Regions from separate parts of the Homo sapiens genome. Here regions 1 and 2 are each linked to region 3. Evidence: promoter capture Hi-C in 16 types of primary human blood cells and fetal thymus (Javierre and others, 2016). All regions are on one chromosome and are shown on one strand. Each heading gives the region's core, a stretch centred on a gene start or on the middle of the fragment in contact. The rest is flanking DNA. Distances are from core to core; before and after follow the strand shown. Region 1 overlaps NOTCH2 (notch receptor 2). Region 2 has its middle 41 kb from the start of HSD3B1. Region 3 holds the start of HMGCS2 (3-hydroxy-3-methylglutaryl-CoA synthase 2).

Region 1 (2,700 bases), core at 10-2,509, 170 kb after region 3:
TAGTACAGACATGCAATTATTGATCTCCAGGTTTAGGAAATTGGATCTATGTGTGAGAAACTGGTTGAGATAGGCTTAGGGGTAGAGGGAGGTGGGGCTGGCTGGCTGGCTGTGGTGGCTGTAGGGGTTGGAAGGATTTCAGGGCTGACCAAGAAAAAAGATATGGCTGTGAGGTGGCTTTATTTGGACACTTTGACAGGTTTGCACCTGGGAGAAGTCCCAAATAGCATGAGACCTTCCAGAGGGGTAGGTGAGTAAGGGGAAGACAGCAAGTAAACTCTGGGAAAGAAGGATCAGAGAAGGAGTCTAGGTGATGTCACTCAACAGCCAGTGGCAGGAATCTCTGGGTCAGAGAGCTCTAAAGGCCAGCATCAGCCTGGGGTCTGTATGGCCCCAGGGTATATCTTGTCCTACTTATACTATGGCTAGCAGATTTTGGCTGCAGTTTTACAGGCTATGCAAAGCAGGCAAGCTCTAAATAGCTAAAAATCTGCTTATTTGGGGGCTATGTTTAAAACAACTAGATGTGTCAAAATTTGGGTTTGGCACTGGTAGGCTTTTGAGCTAATGAGACCCAGCCCCAGCCTGCTGTGAAGAAATAAACAACCTAGGGGCCAAAATACAGAAGCTATCGTTGGCTCATTTATATAACAATAGAGAAGCAAAGCTTTTCTCAGTGTTGCTTGATGGTTTGAATTGGTATCAAATTAATGTCTCAGGCATTTTGCTAATATCTTGCTTGCTCTAACCATTATCAGCCCAGACATTAAAATAGTGACATGTACCTTGAAGACACATACTTCCTCAAATATATACATGTAACGTTTAGCATGATGCTATGGGGAACAGGATGAGCAACATTTTTTTTTTTTGAGAGAAAATTGCTAGTTGACTGATTAATGACTAAATACAAAGGTGACAGGGGCCAAAGGGACACTCCACAAAGCAGTTTTTCCTATCTCAGCTGCTATTCAGGGAAGTGTGGACTGCTATGTTGGGTGGGCCTGTAAAATGCACTCTGGTAGTGACTCTTGGCTCTGAATCCTAAAAGCAAGCCTAAGGAGCTGGGATGGTTCCAGACGCCTATAAAAATATCATACTAGGGACCTGTTAACTTATTGCACAGAGAGGCTGAAAGAAACAGTGGTAAACATTATGACGGGGATTGGTAAAAATCTATAAACTATCAATATAAGATACAAGCAGCTAAATTCAATATATCAGTGCTCAAACAGTTGTACAATCTCCTGGGAGGTCCATGACCTCTGCTTGCTCAGTGTCCTCACCTCGCATCTGTATCCACCAATGAAGTCACTGCATGTTGCCCCGTGCTGGCAGGGGTTGGACGCACACTCATCGAGTTGCTCCTCACAGTAGCTCCCAGTATAGCCCAGGGGGCACTGACAGTAATGCGTGTTGCCAGCATTGATGCAGACACCTGAGTGCTGGCACAAGTGTTCAACAAGCACACCTGGGAAACCCAGTGAGGGAGAAATGTCATAGAAGAACATGTGACACATGGGGTTCAAATCAACCAATGAGCAAGTAAATCTAAACTGGCTGACACATCCAATCTTATTCTTAGCCAGTTCTTCACAACCCTCAGTACCAGATGCATATTAAAAATAAACCCTGAAAGTGGAATATACCTTAGTTTCATTTCAAATACATTCTTCTCCGAATCTCTGAACCTATTCCTCTACCCTTACACCTTCTGTCTTGAGCCCTTTCCCCAGAGCCCTGCCCACCCACTACTATCTGCCCTTCCCTCTTATTCCACAAAAAAATGATACCTTCTCTAAATGCCACTGGACAGTCAATACTGCAGTGAATGACCTGAGCCCAAGGGAGCAAAGCTTACCTCTCCTGGAGGCTGCTATGTCACAAGAGACATTGGGCACGTCACAATAGGCACCAGCCCATCCAGATGGACATAGGCACTGGGACTCTGCTTTTTTCTGAACGCAAGTACCTTTGTTTTTACATGGAGACCGACTGCAGAGATTCACCAGGGTCTGAAACAGAGGCAGGGGTGTACATACATCAAAATTCAAATACTAGAAATGAAGAAAAGAAGTTATATTGTGTTACAAGAAATCAAAGAAAAGCAAACTGATTAAAAAGAAAAAGAGCCTTCATCTAGTAAAAGAGCCCTTAAACTAGATTCAGTGTTCCGAGGTACACCTAACCATTTTTACGTACCGTTAAGTCTTCACTTAATGTCATCATTAGGTTCTTGGAAACTGTGACTTTAAGGACAACGATATATAACGAAACCAATTTTACCACAGTCTAATTGATATAAAAAAGAGTTAAGTTCCTCTACTTATTTCTGGTTAAAAAAAAAATCACTAAACTTCAAATTAACACCCACTTCTGATATTAAACATTAAAATAAACAAGCTATACATTCATTTAAGAAATATTAATAAAAACAAGATAATTATTTATCCAATTTTTGGTGAATCCATGAGTAATAGCAGTCCTAGTGGTGGCAGGTCAAGTCAAGGAATAAATGTTTGCAAAGCAAAACCGTCAGCACCTCTTACCACCACACAGCTCAGAAAGCAACACTAACCAATATGGCAGGCTTGCTGGGTGGTTTTGTACCACATTGTTTATTGTTGTGCACTCATATGATTATCATAGGCTTTATGGGTTTTCATTTTATAATAATTGGTATATTCATTCTTTTTTTTT
Region 2 (2,704 bases), core at 197-2,696, 220 kb before region 3:
GAGGAGGTTGCTGTGGGTCCAGAGTGTGGGAAGGGAAGCTGTCTCCCTCTGGACCTGGGTATATCACAGCCATGATGAGGGTCACACTCAACATCAAGATGGCTTCTTTCTTACACAGAAAATTTACAGATGATTAACCTCAAAGCACCAAGGGACAGGTGATCAGCACCAGCATCAGGGTGGAATGGCCCTAGGCAGTGGGGTAAAGTGAAAAATGGAACACCCCTCTTGCCCCATCCACTGAACAAAATGCAAGAGCCAGCACCTCTCCAGCTCTTGTAAGGCATGCCCACCATCCATATGTTTATGACAAATAGCATGGGAAGGATAGGAGGGTGGTGGAATCTGGGACAAGAGCCTTTCCCCCTGGTTTTTCAGCCTAGTGAAACCCCACTCCTATTGACCAATGAGGGCAATGTTCACAGAGAAGTGATGGGAAAGATTATACCTCCAATGGGCAGTGAGGGGTGATCACAGAAAGAGAGGAAGAAATTGGATGGGCCAGCAGTCTCAACTGGACAAGCACAAAGGCCTCGGAGTGTTGTGGCCAACAAAATGTGCCATCCCTTCTTACAACTGTGGGTGCCAGGCAGGCAGAGCTCCTGCACCAAGCAAGCCTCGCTGAACCTCACGCCATGCACCACACGGAGGCAGCAAGTCTCGGAGGGAAGAGCAAGGAAGCCTGACCCAGTGGGGATTTTTGGGTCCCTTTCCTCCATCTAGGTGGCTCTGCAGGGTACCTGGCAAGGGAATGAATGAAAACACAGGTAAGTTCTCAGCCACCGGCTTAAGGGCTAGGTGTATATGAATACAGACAATGGAGCTGAGCTGGTCACTGGGAAAAGCCACAGGAACCAGCGGGACTTAAATGAGGCCTTGAATTCCTGGGTCCAGACAGGGGGCACAGCATGGGCAGTGGTGCAGAGGAAGACGAGGGGCATAAGGAGGCCTCCCGTCTGCTGGGAAGCATGTATGGAGGGCAGATGAGGAGCTCAGGTACTTGACAAAAGTTTCCACCACCTGAGAGCCAGGCTCTGAGGGCCAGGATGGGGCTGGGAACCCGTGATGGCCTGCTGAGAACTGGCAGGAAAGTAGCCAGAGGCCAACTTTTATGTGAAATCTCTTGATTTCTAAATATTAGCAACTAACTCTAAATTTTAAAAAACAGCTCAAAGACCTGCTCCAAGAGAGGAATGCGTGGGCTAGTATTCAAAATGTATGTGTAATATTTTATTTCTTAAAAAGTAGGTGGTGAGATGTCAGCAGCAAATCTGTTCATTCTTGGTGAAAAGTCCCAAATATACATTATTATATCGTATTGTCACCTTTTCTGTATATTTAACATAGGTTATAATTTTTTAATAAATTAAATTTGGTGGGGAAAAAACATGCAAACTAACAAAACACATTCACAGGCTGGACCCAGGATTAAGAGCTCTGATTTTCCATTTCTGCTCCCAATCTAGTGGTCCAGTGGGGGAGATAAAATACAAGACATGTTAGGTGCTGTGCATAGTAAATATGCAGAGTGCCATAGAAAGGAAAATGCTTCTGAAGGATCCATTCCCACAGGGGACTCATGGGGTCCTTGCATTTTGGCTGGATATCAAAAGATGGGTAGGATTTCAACAGACAGGAATGTGAGTGAAATTATTCCAGGCAGAGGCAATGCAGTCTGCAAAGACCCAGGTGAGAAAGGGGTCCATTTTAAGCAGCAATGAGACCAGACCAGAAAGCCCAAGGCCAGGGGAGACATGGAAGATACACCTGAAAAAAATGATGGGCACAGGCAGGATCACCTGGGGTCATCCCTGGAGACACCGTGCCTGCTTCCTTCATTGCCCTCAGAGTAGGAATTCTGTGCCCCACACCCCCTTAAAGAAGACTTGACATTCAATTACTTCACATATAACATGGCTCATCTTCTCTCAAAAATTGGACTCTACAGGAAACGAATGTCTCCTTTAGCAATGAATATTGATGGTGATGCTAAAAGCTGGGACATCATTCACTCTGCAATGGGCATTGTTCAGCTGTCCCTGGAAGATTACCTTGGCAGCATGTTGTAGGATGGACTGAAAGAGATGAAGAGGATACTTGAAGAATTTAGGTAAGAAATGAAGGCCTGATTTATGTGTTGGTAACAAAACAGACTACAGGGGCAACTGCGGCAGGCCTGAGACAGAATGGCCGCTAGTTTAGACAGGACTGGGTGTGGGCACAGAATTCCCAAGCACACACTTTCTCAAGCCAGAAACCTGGATGGCAGCCCCCCACTCCGCCCACCTATCATTCAGTGCTACGAACTTTACCTCCACAACACCTCTTGAATATGTCGTCTTCCTCCCTGGTAACATCATTCCTACTCGTACCCCCAACAGGCCTCCTTGTCTTGGAGAATCACCCATGAAACCTATCCTCAGCAGTGTTGCCAGAGTTCTCTCCAAACTAGTCTCACCATGTCACTCCCTTCCTTAAAACCAACCAATAGGGGGAGCCCCAGGACTGTCAGGACGAGCCTGAGAGCCTTAGCAGAACATAGAGGGCCTCTGAAGCCCTGGGCCCTGCCTGACACTCCAGACTAATTCTCACCAATCCCTGCCCTGTCCCCAGATTCTCCTACTTTGTGCCTCAACAATTTTCCAAACTCAGCGCTTCCTGCATGCAGCATGCTTTTATATCCACCCAGGCCGGTGCATGGTGT
Region 3 (2,700 bases), core at 128-2,627:
ATGCTGAGATGAAAGTCTCTTTTAGGTTGGAGTTAGAGCCAATGTGGGTTGGATTAAAGGCGATTAGACATATAGAGAAAAGGTGACTCATGAAAAGCAATATTAGTTCAAGCCATGCATAATGGGATTAACTGTGAATATACCAGAAGGGAAATGGGAATGATTCCAAGAGTTTGAACCAAGGGAGTCAGAATGTTGGGGAGGATTGATGTATGTCTTTTGGCTGATGGCCAACTATTGCTATTAAAACAAGAAACCCACATCAATCTCTTCTTCACAAATATAGAAACAGGTTAAATCCTGAGCTGGGACATTTAACCCACATGCAGGGTTTGGCAGTGCATGGGGAGAGTGAGATGATGGTAGCATAATGAAAAATATAAGAAAGCTATGTGCATTTGCCTCTACCATGCACATCTATACACCCAGGTTCCTTGGGTATTTGGCAAGGAAAGACACTAGGTCAAAATCATTTTTCTAAATATTTAGTAGTCATAGAATATAGAGTAAAAATGTAAGGAAATAAAGAACTAGTCCCAATGTGTAGTGGATGGTTTGGGGATTAGACAGAAACACATAGGTGGCTGGGAGCCTGAGGCACTAACGATAGCTGTGTTACCATCATCGCTGACAATGGAAAACATAAGCACTTGAGCCATGTTCAGGGACTATTTACAAAGAAAAGGAGTGTGCATGTTCTTCTTGCAAAGAGCATGTACACATACACACATAAACACACATTTCCCCTTTTCATAAAATTGGAACACAAGGCAAACACAGCTTCTCATCCTCAGTCCATTTCTGATTCTGCTGCAGTGATATAAAGTCACTGGTTTTACTAACACTGCAGTTGGCACAAGGTCCTGTGGTTCTAGGCAGAGGCTAGGGGTGAAGGTGGGAATGGTGGTGTAGAGAGGAAAGCTGTGGCCTGGTACTGATATTTCTACTGCTTCATGCAGCTGGCAGAGTAAAAGTTGCCATTGCTCACAAACACAGCATGTGTCAGAGGTTTGGGCTCTTCTCACTCTACAGCTGAAAGGGATTGTCTGTTTAGAGATGAGGTAACTGAGACCCTTTAAAGTTAACTTGCTTGTCTAAGGCTGCTGTGCACAAGCCTTGCCAAATTTTGAGTGGGATTCTAGTGAGTTTTCCCCAATAGCAGGGAAAAACTATCTTTTACTAGTTACAAGGTGCTTCTCAGAAAGTGACTCACCTTTGGTGGGCTACTGGGAGCAGGCGAGCAGGTGTGAGGGAGGTTTCCTGCACCGCTCTTGTCAGTTGCAGAATGCGCTTCACTGGAGTCAACAGACGCTGCATCTCCAGAGGAGCAAGCAGAAACCCAGCAGTTCAGAAACCCAGCAGAAACCTTGAAAGAGATGCCCAGTGGTGCCCGGCAGGACTTTATAAAGCCCCAAGACTCCTGCCTCCCTAAGCCCCGCCTCTGCTCACCGTGGCTCAGTCTGCTTCTAAAACTGGGTCAAAGGGCTCACTCAGAACACGGGCGAGTCAAAGACAAACAGCATCTCTCCAACATGTACATAGCTGCCCTGCTCCTGAGCATGTGTGGGAATGGCTGGGCATTGTTCCTCCTACTCCATCAGGCTCTGTGGCAGCCTTGATTCTGCCCAGCTACCTAAGCAGGAGGTTATGATGTTCCTTGTTGTATCACATCCCAAGGTAACCCTATGTGTCTTGTTTTAGACCCTGGCTCCTTATCTGTATTACTCTCACTGGGTGTTCCACACTCCTCTCTGTGGTGTTAGTTGTTATTATTTTAATGTGCTATGCATTATAAGAAACATCTTTCTAAACCAAAGGGAAACTCTTTTAATAGTAGCTTTTCAAGGAGTTGGGAGTGAGTGTTGGCACATAGGCCAAGGGCTGGGCGTTAGAGTATGTGGAACCTACTATATTTCTCCTGTTTATTGTCCACCCTTTTACTTGTACAGCTCTACACAATTTCCAAGTGGGATGAAATTAGTGTTGTAGTAAAGGGACAGGAGCCTCAAAGAGGTGACAGTTTGAAGCTCAATCTCCTAAGGAGGAAAGGTTTACTTTATAGATGAGGTCAGAGTTATGTATAAAGGAGTCATTTTCCCAAAGACCTGCAGCTAGGAAGTTGCAGAATGAGAACTCAACCATGTCTTTTGACTCCAGATTCTGGTCCTTCTGCTTTGCTCTTCTACTACTCAATAAAAAGGCTCCTGCCATCTGATTTTCCAAATGAATGTCTCCCTCCACTCCTCCCACAGCACCAATCTTCCTCTACCTTTTGTGAGTCATGCATTCACTCCTTAGTTCATTCAGTCATCCCCATCACCAACCCCCTGTCTAATATGAGTGTGTAGGGAACACAGAAAAGAGCTGGAGTGGTTCCTGCTTTAGGAGGATATAGTTGACTTCATGTTCCTACAGACAGAGAATGTCTAGGTGCCCCCAGCAGTCCAGGATATCTAGGTCTTCCATCTTATCTTTAAATTCTTATCTCCATATATCTTGGTGTGTTGGTGTTCTAACTCAATCTCCTACCTTGCTGTGTCACCTCCTGCTCTTACACTCAGCCTTTTGCAAAGTTCTGTCGTCAGTGAAATTCTTCATTTCCAATCTCTTCTCTGAAATACCTGTTGCTTCTTGTCAATCCAATGCACTTTAAATGCTTACAACAAGGCCTGTGTCCTCTTTGCTTCATACTATCTCTTC

What was found. Contacts are between HindIII fragments. The CHiCAGO score rates a contact against its expected background, and 5 or more counts as called.
Region 1: a fragment that was not itself captured here is called in contact with the fragment with the promoter of HMGCS2 in region 3 in 1 of 17 cell types (M0 macrophages); the score reaches 5.9 in M0 macrophages.
Region 2: a contact is called between a fragment that was not itself captured here and the fragment with the promoter of HMGCS2 in region 3, in 2 of 17 cell types (M1 macrophages and M0 macrophages). The highest score is 6.1, in M1 macrophages.

The regions. Positions count from the first base shown.
Region 1 is chr1:119,935,996-119,938,695 of GRCh38, forward strand. NOTCH2 (notch receptor 2) reads right to left here. Exons shown (of 34, transcript NM_024408.4): 20 at 1,862-2,015; 21 at 1,287-1,471. Among named protein-coding and RNA genes, the nearest start is that of ADAM30, 41 kb to the left of the region's middle. RefSeq lists an enhancer at 245-970. The HindIII fragment of the contact is 1,189 bases long and covers 666-1,854 here.
Region 2 is chr1:119,547,328-119,550,031 of GRCh38, forward strand. No RefSeq gene overlaps it. Among named protein-coding and RNA genes, the nearest start is that of HSD3B1, 41 kb to the left of the region's middle. RefSeq lists an enhancer at 2,359-2,653. The HindIII fragment of the contact is 5,511 bases long and covers 1-2,704 here.
Region 3 is chr1:119,767,528-119,770,227 of GRCh38, forward strand. HMGCS2 (3-hydroxy-3-methylglutaryl-CoA synthase 2) reads right to left here and starts at 1,378. Exons shown (of 10, transcript NM_005518.4): 1 at 1,214-1,378. The coding sequence starts at 1,317. RefSeq lists a silencer at 959-1,253. The HindIII fragment of the contact is 4,165 bases long and covers 1-2,700 here.